Regions from separate parts of the Homo sapiens genome. Here region 1 is linked to region 2. The links are contacts of gene promoters, found by promoter capture Hi-C in blood cells and fetal thymus (Javierre and others, 2016). All regions are on one chromosome and are shown on one strand. Each heading gives the region's core, a stretch centred on a gene start or on the middle of the fragment in contact. The rest is flanking DNA. Distances are from core to core; before and after follow the strand shown. Region 1 overlaps AFF2 (ALF transcription elongation factor 2). Region 2 holds the start of AFF2 (ALF transcription elongation factor 2).

Region 1 (4,692 bases), core at 560-3,059, 300 kb after region 2:
AAGGTCGCAAGAACGCTTGATGTCTGATGGTCTCAGTGTATTGCCAAATCTTGATTAAAATGGAAGACTTAGGAACAATTATGTTTTTTTCTTTCAAAATAATCTTTTCAAACAGAGCCATTTCTACATGTTTTGGCTTGAAATTTATTGACTTAGCAAAGTATCGATTATATTTTCACTACCATTTAGCAATAACCTCATACTTAACATGAAGCTCTCACATAGTTGAGATACTTTGGCCTTGGGGCAACAGGTTATTTTTGAAAATGACATCTAATTGTCATTGTAGTATGTTTGGTATTAAAAATTGAACTATCTACATTTTAATGCTTCCACTTTAGCTCTAAAGCACGTTGCCTGTCGTCTGTTTTCGTTATGAAAATACTTGCAGGAATGGCTTAACATTTTTACTTCTGTAGATCATGCAGGCTCTGTACCTGTGAAATGTGTAGCTTTTAATTTTAGATTAGAGACTTCTACTAGCTAGAGATTAACACAAGTTGAATCTTTCAAATTAATCTGCTTTTGGGCCACAGATTGACAGACTTAACAGACACGAGTCACCTTAAAGACTGGATTCTAAGCCAACCCGCTTGTTTTACATCTGGGAAAACTGTGACTTGCCCAAAGTCATACAGTTTGTCACTGAACCAATAGAGTTTCTTCAAGACAGTCAGTTCAAGTATATTAAACAGTATCTCATGAAGTGCTAAAGGAATCCTGAGGGCAGGGACAAAGTGTTACATATAGATGTCCACCATACTCAGAGGAACTCTGTTCAGATTAATCTACCACATTTTCTGTTCTTAGCCAATTACATTTCACTATGCCAAAAATAAAGTACTTTCAGGAAACTACTTTCTGTCTTTTCCAAATGCCAAAGTCACTCTCTATCTGAATTTTTTCTCTTATTCAAAGTTAAGGTCCTGTCTTACTTCCTTGCTTGACCACCAGATCCATGGACAGTTTTTCCTTTCGTGACTTTCTATTAAAGTTATTGTCAGAGCCATGAATCTGGCTTTTTAAAATATGATCACCACATAAACTGGATTTCCAGGATAGCCCTGATTTCAATTCATTCTCCCCATAAATTGGTATTCTAGAAATTCCCATATTTGGCCATGTAAATCACGTCATGCAAGCTGACTTTGGTACCCACTGAAAGAAAATTTTTTTTCTGCCAATGTGCCTCATTTAGGGATCAAAAAAAGATATCTGCTAACATGCACTGTAATTCCTCACTTTAGATATGCAGGTCTTGTCTACTCGTCTATAGTATACCCTCCCTGTCTTAGTCTGTCTTGTGCTTCTATAACAGAATACCTGAGACTGGGTAATTTATAATGAACAGAAATTTATTGGCTCACAGTTTTAGAAATTGAGAAGTCCAATATCAAGATGTCAGCATCTGGCACAGGCCTTCTTTCTGCATTATAACATGGTAGAAGGCATCACATGGAAGAAGTTGGAGGTTGGGGAGAGAGAGAGAGAGAGTGAGAGAGACAGAGAGAGAAGCAGAAACAAAAGAGTGCCAAACTTGTCATTTTATCAGGAACCCACTCCCATGATAATGACATTAATTTATTCATGAGGGCAGAGCCCCCATAGCCTAATCAACCCTAAGGGCCCCACCTCTGAATACTGTTACAGTGGCAATTAAATTTCAACATGACGTTTTGAAAGGACAAACATTCAAGCCATAGCACTCCCTGTGGACAGCCATTGTTTATCATGTACTGCATTTTACCTAATGCTTAGCTTAGTGCACTGTGCATACTGAGGGTGCAATGCATATTTGTCATTTGGGATTATTTCCTTTACATGAACAGATTTTCCAAACGCCAAATTTAGAAGTACTGCAACACATTAATTCTGGTCAAGAGTAGGTCTGGTTAGTTCATTAAGAGTTTATTTTATCAGTAATGTGTTGTGCTTGTACCTGAAATTATAAATGCCTGCCAGGTATCTGTTTATCCTACATACTTCCACAACTCAGAAATAATCAATACCTTGTTTTCTTGTGGATGCGAGAAAAGTTAGGATCACTGATGCTGGGTATATGCTGTCCACGTTAATTGGCATAGACCGTTAGGCTTCATAAACCATGGTACACCATGTATCACTCCTTCTTTGATCTTCAGCATAAAATTCAATGGGCTTGAGATGCTCCACAGAGCTGGCCCACATTTAATGTCACAGACCCTTTATGACACACACTATGTCTATTTCAGGGGTCAGTTTTTGCAGAGTGATTTTCTGGAAAAGTGCCATGCCCTTCCATGAGCCAAGAATTTCAGTGTCTCATAAATGGTGGACAGACAGGACCTTGGGGCCATCTCTCCAGCTAACAGAAGATACTAAGTAAGGCCCAGGGGAAGTTTAAGAAACAAACTTCTTGTGTTTGTTCTATTGATTTTCTTGCCAACAAGAAGTGTAACAAATTGTGATGTTTCCAAATAAAAAGCATCAGGAATAAGCTCCAATTTTATTGAGTGATTTCCTGGACACACATGCAGGTGCATTTTGGAAGAGGCTGGATATAGTCAGACACAGGTAACAAAGCCAGGTCACTTAACAAAGCAGGAAAGATAAGGGCCACGGTTGCAAATCATTATTTATAATCAAACAAAATGGTAATTTTGCCAACACTCCCTTCTCAAATATAAGACCATCATCATGGTAATCAAACTATTACTCTGACACAGTTTACTTATCAGGAGAACAATCTGAGATTGATGACCTGAAAATGGAGGTTGTCTTTCAATTCATTTGAAATGCAAACCGAGTGGACAACCTATACCTACTGTGGCATATTTTTAAAGCAAAATCAGGCACCTACATTGACCTCCTATTTACATTTCTTTGAGAAGAAAAGAAAATCACATAAAAGCTATCAAGAAACACATTTCACAGCAGGCAAATTAATTGGTTTTACAGTATTTGAATGGAGGGTTTGTCAAATAAAACATGCCATGACAGTTAATAGTGTCATTTAGAGCCAGAAAATTATTGGCTTATTTGTTATTGGATAAAAGGAAGGCAAACATTTTGTATTAGAAAGTTTTAATGTGTTTAAAATCCTCATTAGGGATTAATGGACATGCTTGCTTAGCATAGCGCCTCATTAATTTGAGGCTAAACAGTTACTTCTGTGTTTCAATCTCAGTGTTGTTTCTTAACATTTTTTTTTTACTTCTCTTTAATTAGATCTTGCATTTGAGTTTGGTCTCTACACCATTGGAGATGTAGATTTAATTAATGAGATTTATAAATCTAATGAAAGTGAGTTATTCTTAGCTATCGTTTCATTTTAGTGAGCAGTTAAACCACATGTAAGTGGGCGCAGATCTAAGAGATTTCAGAAGTACAGAAAAAATGTGAACTTCCCTGAATATATTTAGCTGTGTCACTTGGCATTAATAGATAAAAGTGTTTTAATTAGAGTCATAAATAATAGGGGAGCTGGCGAGGATTCAGTTCCCATGCACATGGCTTGTTCTTTAGGATCATCACTGTCAAAGAAGAGCAATTGTAACTCTGTTTCTGTGGAATTTCAGTGTCATCCACTGGCAATTAAGACAATCCTAAGTGCGGAGTATAGAGAGTCAATAAGGCGCCAAGTTCGTTAGAGGTTAGTACAAAAGTAGAGCCACTTTCTATCAAGTGTATTCTGTTGTCACTGTTTTATTGAGGGCATCTGTGGGTACGATTTATAAAGTCTATTCCATTTACATTGCTTTAAGAGGAATTTAGTTAAAGGAAAAACTGATATCTGAGTTTTTGGTTTTCAAAAAGACGTTTAAATCATTAGTTATTTATTTGTAAGAAGACCATTGTAGTTTCTTTAGGGCGAGGGATTGTGAATGTCAAGGTAAGTCCTTTTTTTTCTAAAAGATTTTCAAAAAATAAGAGCCAAAGGTACATATTTAAAAGCTTCTTTTTTAAACGGGGTTATGGAACTTAATTTAAGACCCCATAATATACCTGTGGCAATGCCTTCAGAAATTACCAGAAAAAACTGAACTCCCACTTTTTTTTTCCCATGAGGAAGTCCTTGTATCTTAGACACTGTAAATGATTTGAAGAACTTGTCAGTCCAAGACACATAAAAGATAATCGTATTTTAAAATACTACATGATAGCAATCACATATTAAATGTGTAAAATGCTTGCTTGAATACAAAATATTTCAATGATTAAAAATAGCTCTTCTTTAAACAATTCAGAAACTCCGTCTAATGTTCTAAAGGAATGATTTCTCTCAGGAGGATATGAGTTAATCGAGTTCTCTGTGCTCCCAAAGAGACAGAGTAGCATTCAGTTAGGCCCAGGGGAGATCCTCAAGCCTTGGGGCTTAAATTTGGCCCTGGGCTTAATTTCATCTGGCCTTCTGGATAATATTACAGGAGTCACTACGGTGGAGTCCTGGTCATTAGTCCTACTCCTGCGCTTTCTGCTTATTGCAGTCAGAATGAAGCCTCTTCTAGATTAGAGCATTTGGAGAACTGTGAACTATGGTTAATTAATCAGTGTTGGAAAAAGCAGAAGCTAACAGTGAGGAGCAGTGTCACCTTCTTCCAAATCATCAGAGCTACTTGGCCTCCAACTCCCTTCTTTCTCCCCGCCTCCTTATCCCTTCTATTATACTTCCCTAGCAAGTCTATGATCCATGTTTCTGTTTTCGAAGACAAC
Region 2 (4,915 bases), core at 338-2,837:
CCCAGTGGATGCTTGAGTTGCAGAATCTTAGAGCCTTGTTTCTCTATGTTAATGATGTGCTTTCTTTCCCCCCGTAAAACAATGTGAAAGAGACCAGACCCTGGGCCCCTTGTAGCTCAAATGCTGAAGTCATTCATGCTTGGAGCTGAGGCACCTTCTACTGGCTCCAGCCCTGGAAGAGCTTCCCAGGTTCTAGGTTCTAATCTGGGATCCCCCTCTAGGGGAAATATCAGATCTTGAGCATTTTAATGTCTTAGGGTCTCTGTTTCTTCAGGAAAAAAATGAAGTTAAAAGGTATTTGGATGATTTTGGTAATATGAGATAATACTGTAGAAGCATATTCAAATAGAAGGGAGAATGTCAGAGAAGTATGAGCCAGAGGGCTGCTGGGTGTTTTATGGAGAAACTGAGGCCCAGATAAGTGACTTGCTTGGAGTCACACACAGAGCTACCGGCACCCTGCTCTGTCAGGGCTCAGTCTGCTGTCCTTCCCAAGAGAGTTCTAGCCTTAGGATTTGAAAAATGTGCCAATACTATTCCCTCTGTATAACGACACGAAGAAGGCAAATTACATGCCTAGGACTCCAGAATGCTCATGTCCTGAAATGCCAGAAAGCGGTCCCGCCCCTTCCCACAGACCTTTCTCTGCACGGAGGCCAGGGAACCTTTCCCTCCAGGGAATTGGCTAAAGGGATCCACTCCTTCCTGGATCAGAGGTGGAGGTTGAAGGGAGTAGGAGGCTCGGTTAAACCCTCCACGTGCAGAAAGAGAATTTCAGGCCAGAAGGGAGACGGGCAGCCGGTGCGTGGGATACTGGGCACACACCCAGTGGTTTTCCCATTTCTCAGAGGAGGAGCTAGCAGAAGTCTTTTGCTCAAGGCACCTGGTGACCGTGCGAGGAAAGTGACAGTGGAACCCAGTTTAACAGTATCCTAACCCCGAACTCAAGGACCACGCAAGGGCAGTCATTTGTTCCTATCCTTGCTGCCCACTGAATCCAGGGCCTATAGCTCGCTGACCTACTAGGTGCGCGCCTAAAGGCATGCCTGGAGGGCCTGGGTGCGGGCACGTGGAGCCACGGGGCTGGTGAAGGTGACCGCCTTCTCCTTCCTGGACCCGCGTGCTACGCACTACAGACCTGAGGGATGCTCAGGCCCGCAAAGTTTGCTCCACTACTCGGGGGCTCAAGGAGCTGTGCTTGAGGTGGCAGGGGGCGACCTTCAACCCCACGGCTGTTTGTGCTGTCTTTTCTAGTTCAAAACTAATTCCCAGTGGTGGGGGTGGGCTGGGCTTCAGAGAGGGGTCCCATTCCCGAAGCCCGCGTCCTGGTCCCGCCAGCCCACCTCCTGTATCCCTGCCACGGCCCCTGCGTCCCGGGTCCGGGTCCGGGTCCTCAGCTCTGTGGCCGCTCCCACTAGCTGATTTTGACAGTGGGGGGTGGGAGAGGGTTCCCGAAAGGCAGGGGCGGGCGCGGCGAGCCCCTGCCAGATCCGGGGATGATAACGTGCCTGCTCCATGTCGCGGCTTCTAGCTGTCCAGGCTCCGCCCCCTGTGAGTGTGTAAGTGTGTGATGCTGCCGCGGCCGCCGCCGCCGCCTGTGCAGCCGCTGCCGCCGCCGCCGCCGCCGCCGCCGCCGCCGCCGCCGCCGCCGCCGCTGCCGCCCCGGCTGCCGCGCCGCGCCGCTGCCTCTGCCCCGGCCGCCCCCGCCGCCGCTGCCGCCGCCGGCCCGCAGCCAGCCAGGCGGGCGGCCCAGCCCGCCTGAGCCCGCAGCGGCTGCCGCCGCAGCGTCGGGTCGCTGGGTGCGCGGGCTACCGCGGACCGAGCGGACCCGAGTGGGCGACCAGGCGCTTGCCCGCCCAGTGCCACTGCCGCCGCTTCCTCGCCGGAGCACAGGACCAGACACCTCCAGCGCCCGCTGCTGCTGCCGATGCGGCCCGGACACTTTTAGCTGGGCGGGAGGGCTGGAGAGCCGGGGGCCGCCGAGAACCGCCAGCGAGCTGTGCCGAGAGCCGCGCCGACCCGCTGCGATCAGGGACAGGCGCCCGCCCGCCGCCGCCGCCTGGCCGCTATGGATCTATTCGACTTTTTCAGAGACTGGGACTTGGAGCAGCAGTGGTAGGTGTTGATTTTTGCCTTCTCCTTTGATGAGCGAGTCTCCTGGCGAAGTCTGAGGTTTTCGCCTTTGTTAAGAGGAGCTGAAGCTGTCGTGGGGGGCGCCCCGGACTCCCTCCCACTTGCTCTCAGCCACCTCTGGCCCCGGCCGCGCTGACTCCTAGGTCGGATGCCGGGGTGGGGGGAGGTGCGGGAAGAGGGAGGGATGCGGACCCGAAAGCGTCGCTTTGCGCTCCAAGTCTAAAGAGTTGCATTTGGCTCACATCGAATTCGGTGCCGCCCGAGGGCTGAACCGCACGACCTCCCAGGAGCTTTTCTCTCGGAGCGGCTTGCCGGTCTGGCCTCCTTGAGCCCCGGATGCCGCCCGCCCGAAATGTCTCAACTTTCCAGGTGCCCAACGCCCGCGGCGGGCCATGGGGGAAAGGCAACGGCCAGGTGCGGCCAGCAGCCCTCTGCTTCCTTGGTGGCCACCGCCCCCGCTGCCGCCACCTCCATCCCTGCGCTGCGCGGCGCGCACACCTTTCCTTCTGCCGACTCAGCCCAAGTTCCCTGCACTCCCGGGTGGAGCAGCGGCTTTGGGGGCCACCACTCAGGGGACCTTGGTTCGAGGCCGACTTCGGCGCTTGGCTTTCAAGACTGAGGGTTTTCGGAGTTGGCCCCCCAAATCCGCAGCTCTGATGTCAATGCACATTTAATTACCGGATGGACCCCCTTCGGCCTCCCACTGGGAGGCAGCCGTAGTTTTTTGTAAGGGACCTCCAGCTCAGATTCAAAGGTTGAGTCAGCTCTTCACAAAATACCCTAAACTTGTCGCTGAGACATTTTGAAAGATGGTAGAAAGGTGACTGGGGACCTGGAAAGTTGTTAACTCTCTTAGAGATGTGCGTGCGCGTGTGCATAAATACTGATATACATATCTATTAACTTTTCAAAAACTTCACCTACTACAAACATTATCACAGTTTATTTGTCATAATACTTAAACGTATCAGATTCCCCCCGCAGTCTAAGGAATTAGATGGGGAGGGGGCGCAGTGGTAACCGCTTAAAATTGCATTCTTGGTTATTGCCTTTTAAAATGTATTTAGAATGATCTGTAGTACCTACCAATAGTGCGAAATCTTTTGCAATGTTAAACTACTAGCGGCCGTTGGTTATGAATGCTGTGTATTTTTACAAGGATTTCCCCTGTTGATGTGATATTTTAGGCAATTTCCTTCTTTAAAAAAGGGTCATATGCTTAGCCAACAGCTTCATTATGCCAATCATGCCTCCTTTAGTTGCAAATCCAAGATAGTCAGAACTTAAATACATTTTATTTTACAGCAATTCCGGATAAATCCTTGAAGCGCAAATTATGCTGTATCAGTATTAATCTATAAGGCGTTTTGGATACCACGGTTTTATCAGCTCTGTAGAAATACATTGTTACATTAAAAAATGCTGTTATTTGAAAGTAAAAATTACTATAAAATTATTGCTCAATTAGATATTATGCTTCTGCACACAGCCTTTACTCTGCTTCACTAATTTATTTTGCAGACAACTGATAACCATAGCACTCTATTTGCATACAATTTGCCTAATATGTGGTGTGGGTTACATCGTTAATTTAACAGACATTGTTATAATTAATTTCATGGGTATAGTTCAAATGTTAAACATATACAAGGTATTAGGTTTTTAGAAACATGTTTTTTATATTAATTCCGGTTTAATCTTATGCATATGCAATTGCATATTTAAAGGGAATGGACTCTTTTATGTTTGATTTCTTTAAAAAAAATGATAGGCTCCCTCACCCCTGTGGGAGGCTTTCTTTTTCTTATCTTAAGGAAAATGCAAAACCTTTTTTTCCTCCAGATCCCTAACTGAGACACATCAGTTAAGAAGCATAGACTTGGACACTTCGTGAATATTATGTGAAATACTGATTAATTAGTGTAACGCATCTGCATAAATAAGCCTGTCCTTTCCCTCTGTACATGATCCAGGAAAATTTCTCCTTCTTACTGCTCGTGAGTGGCACACTTCGTGATGCATCTCTGTTTATAAACATTTGTAATGTGGTTGTGCTTTTGTGTTTTGTATAGCTCCACAGAGAAAAGGAACATAAATGTGACAATAGTGGATGAACTAAAAAGCTTGACATTGTCTTGAGTGGAAATTGGTACCTTTCCCACTTCTCTTTGGAAGTCCAGAGCATGCCAGTTACGTGTTCATTATATGTTTACTTCCATTCCTTGGGAGTAAATAGCTACTTAAAGTGATGGCCTCCACTCCCCACGCCCCCAAGCCCCCAGGAGGGCCAAGAAAGGAAAAAAGACCAGCAAAGTTAACGATCTTATTTACCTTGAATTTATTCTTAACATTCACTTATGGAACAGTAAGCTCTGAGCTGTCTCTACTGCAACCCTAGATGTCTGACAATAAATGGATCAGGACAGCTTAAAAACAAACTCATTTTCCTAGACATAATGAAGAAAGACTTTACATACACAGGCATATGTGTTATTTGCAAACACTTGACTGTAGTAAACAAAAAGTGTGTGCCCATTTATAAACACACACATTTGTTAGGGCAAATGCAAATGGAAAGGATGGGGTACTAATGATGCTGCAGTGTGCATGTTATGTGCAGTGTTTTGGAATGCTCACATGCCTAATGGAACATACCACTGGATTTCACAAACTGCAAGAATAACTTAATGGGTCATGCTCTGGACTCGATTAAAGGGCCAAAGCTCAAGTTCTTTAAGATTCTTGGATGAATGAGCAATGTTCACCTGAGTCTGAATTTAAT

The links. Contacts are between HindIII fragments. The CHiCAGO score rates a contact against its expected background, and 5 or more counts as called.
Region 1: a fragment that was not itself captured here is called in contact with the fragment with the promoter of AFF2 in region 2 in 1 of 17 cell types (neutrophils); the score reaches 5.2 in neutrophils.

What each region holds. Positions count from the first base shown.
Region 1 is chrX:148,796,681-148,801,372 of GRCh38, forward strand. The region is part of intron 3 of AFF2 (ALF transcription elongation factor 2); the gene reads left to right. Among named protein-coding and RNA genes, the nearest start is that of AFF2, 300 kb to the left of the region's middle. The HindIII fragment of the contact is 4,244 bases long and covers 1-3,931 here.
Region 2 is chrX:148,499,030-148,503,944 of GRCh38, forward strand. It overlaps AFF2 (ALF transcription elongation factor 2), which reads left to right and starts at 1,588. Exons shown (of 21, transcript NM_002025.4): 1 at 1,588-2,115. The coding sequence starts at 2,069. RefSeq lists an enhancer at 2,248-3,125. The HindIII fragment of the contact is 5,176 bases long and covers 1-4,254 here.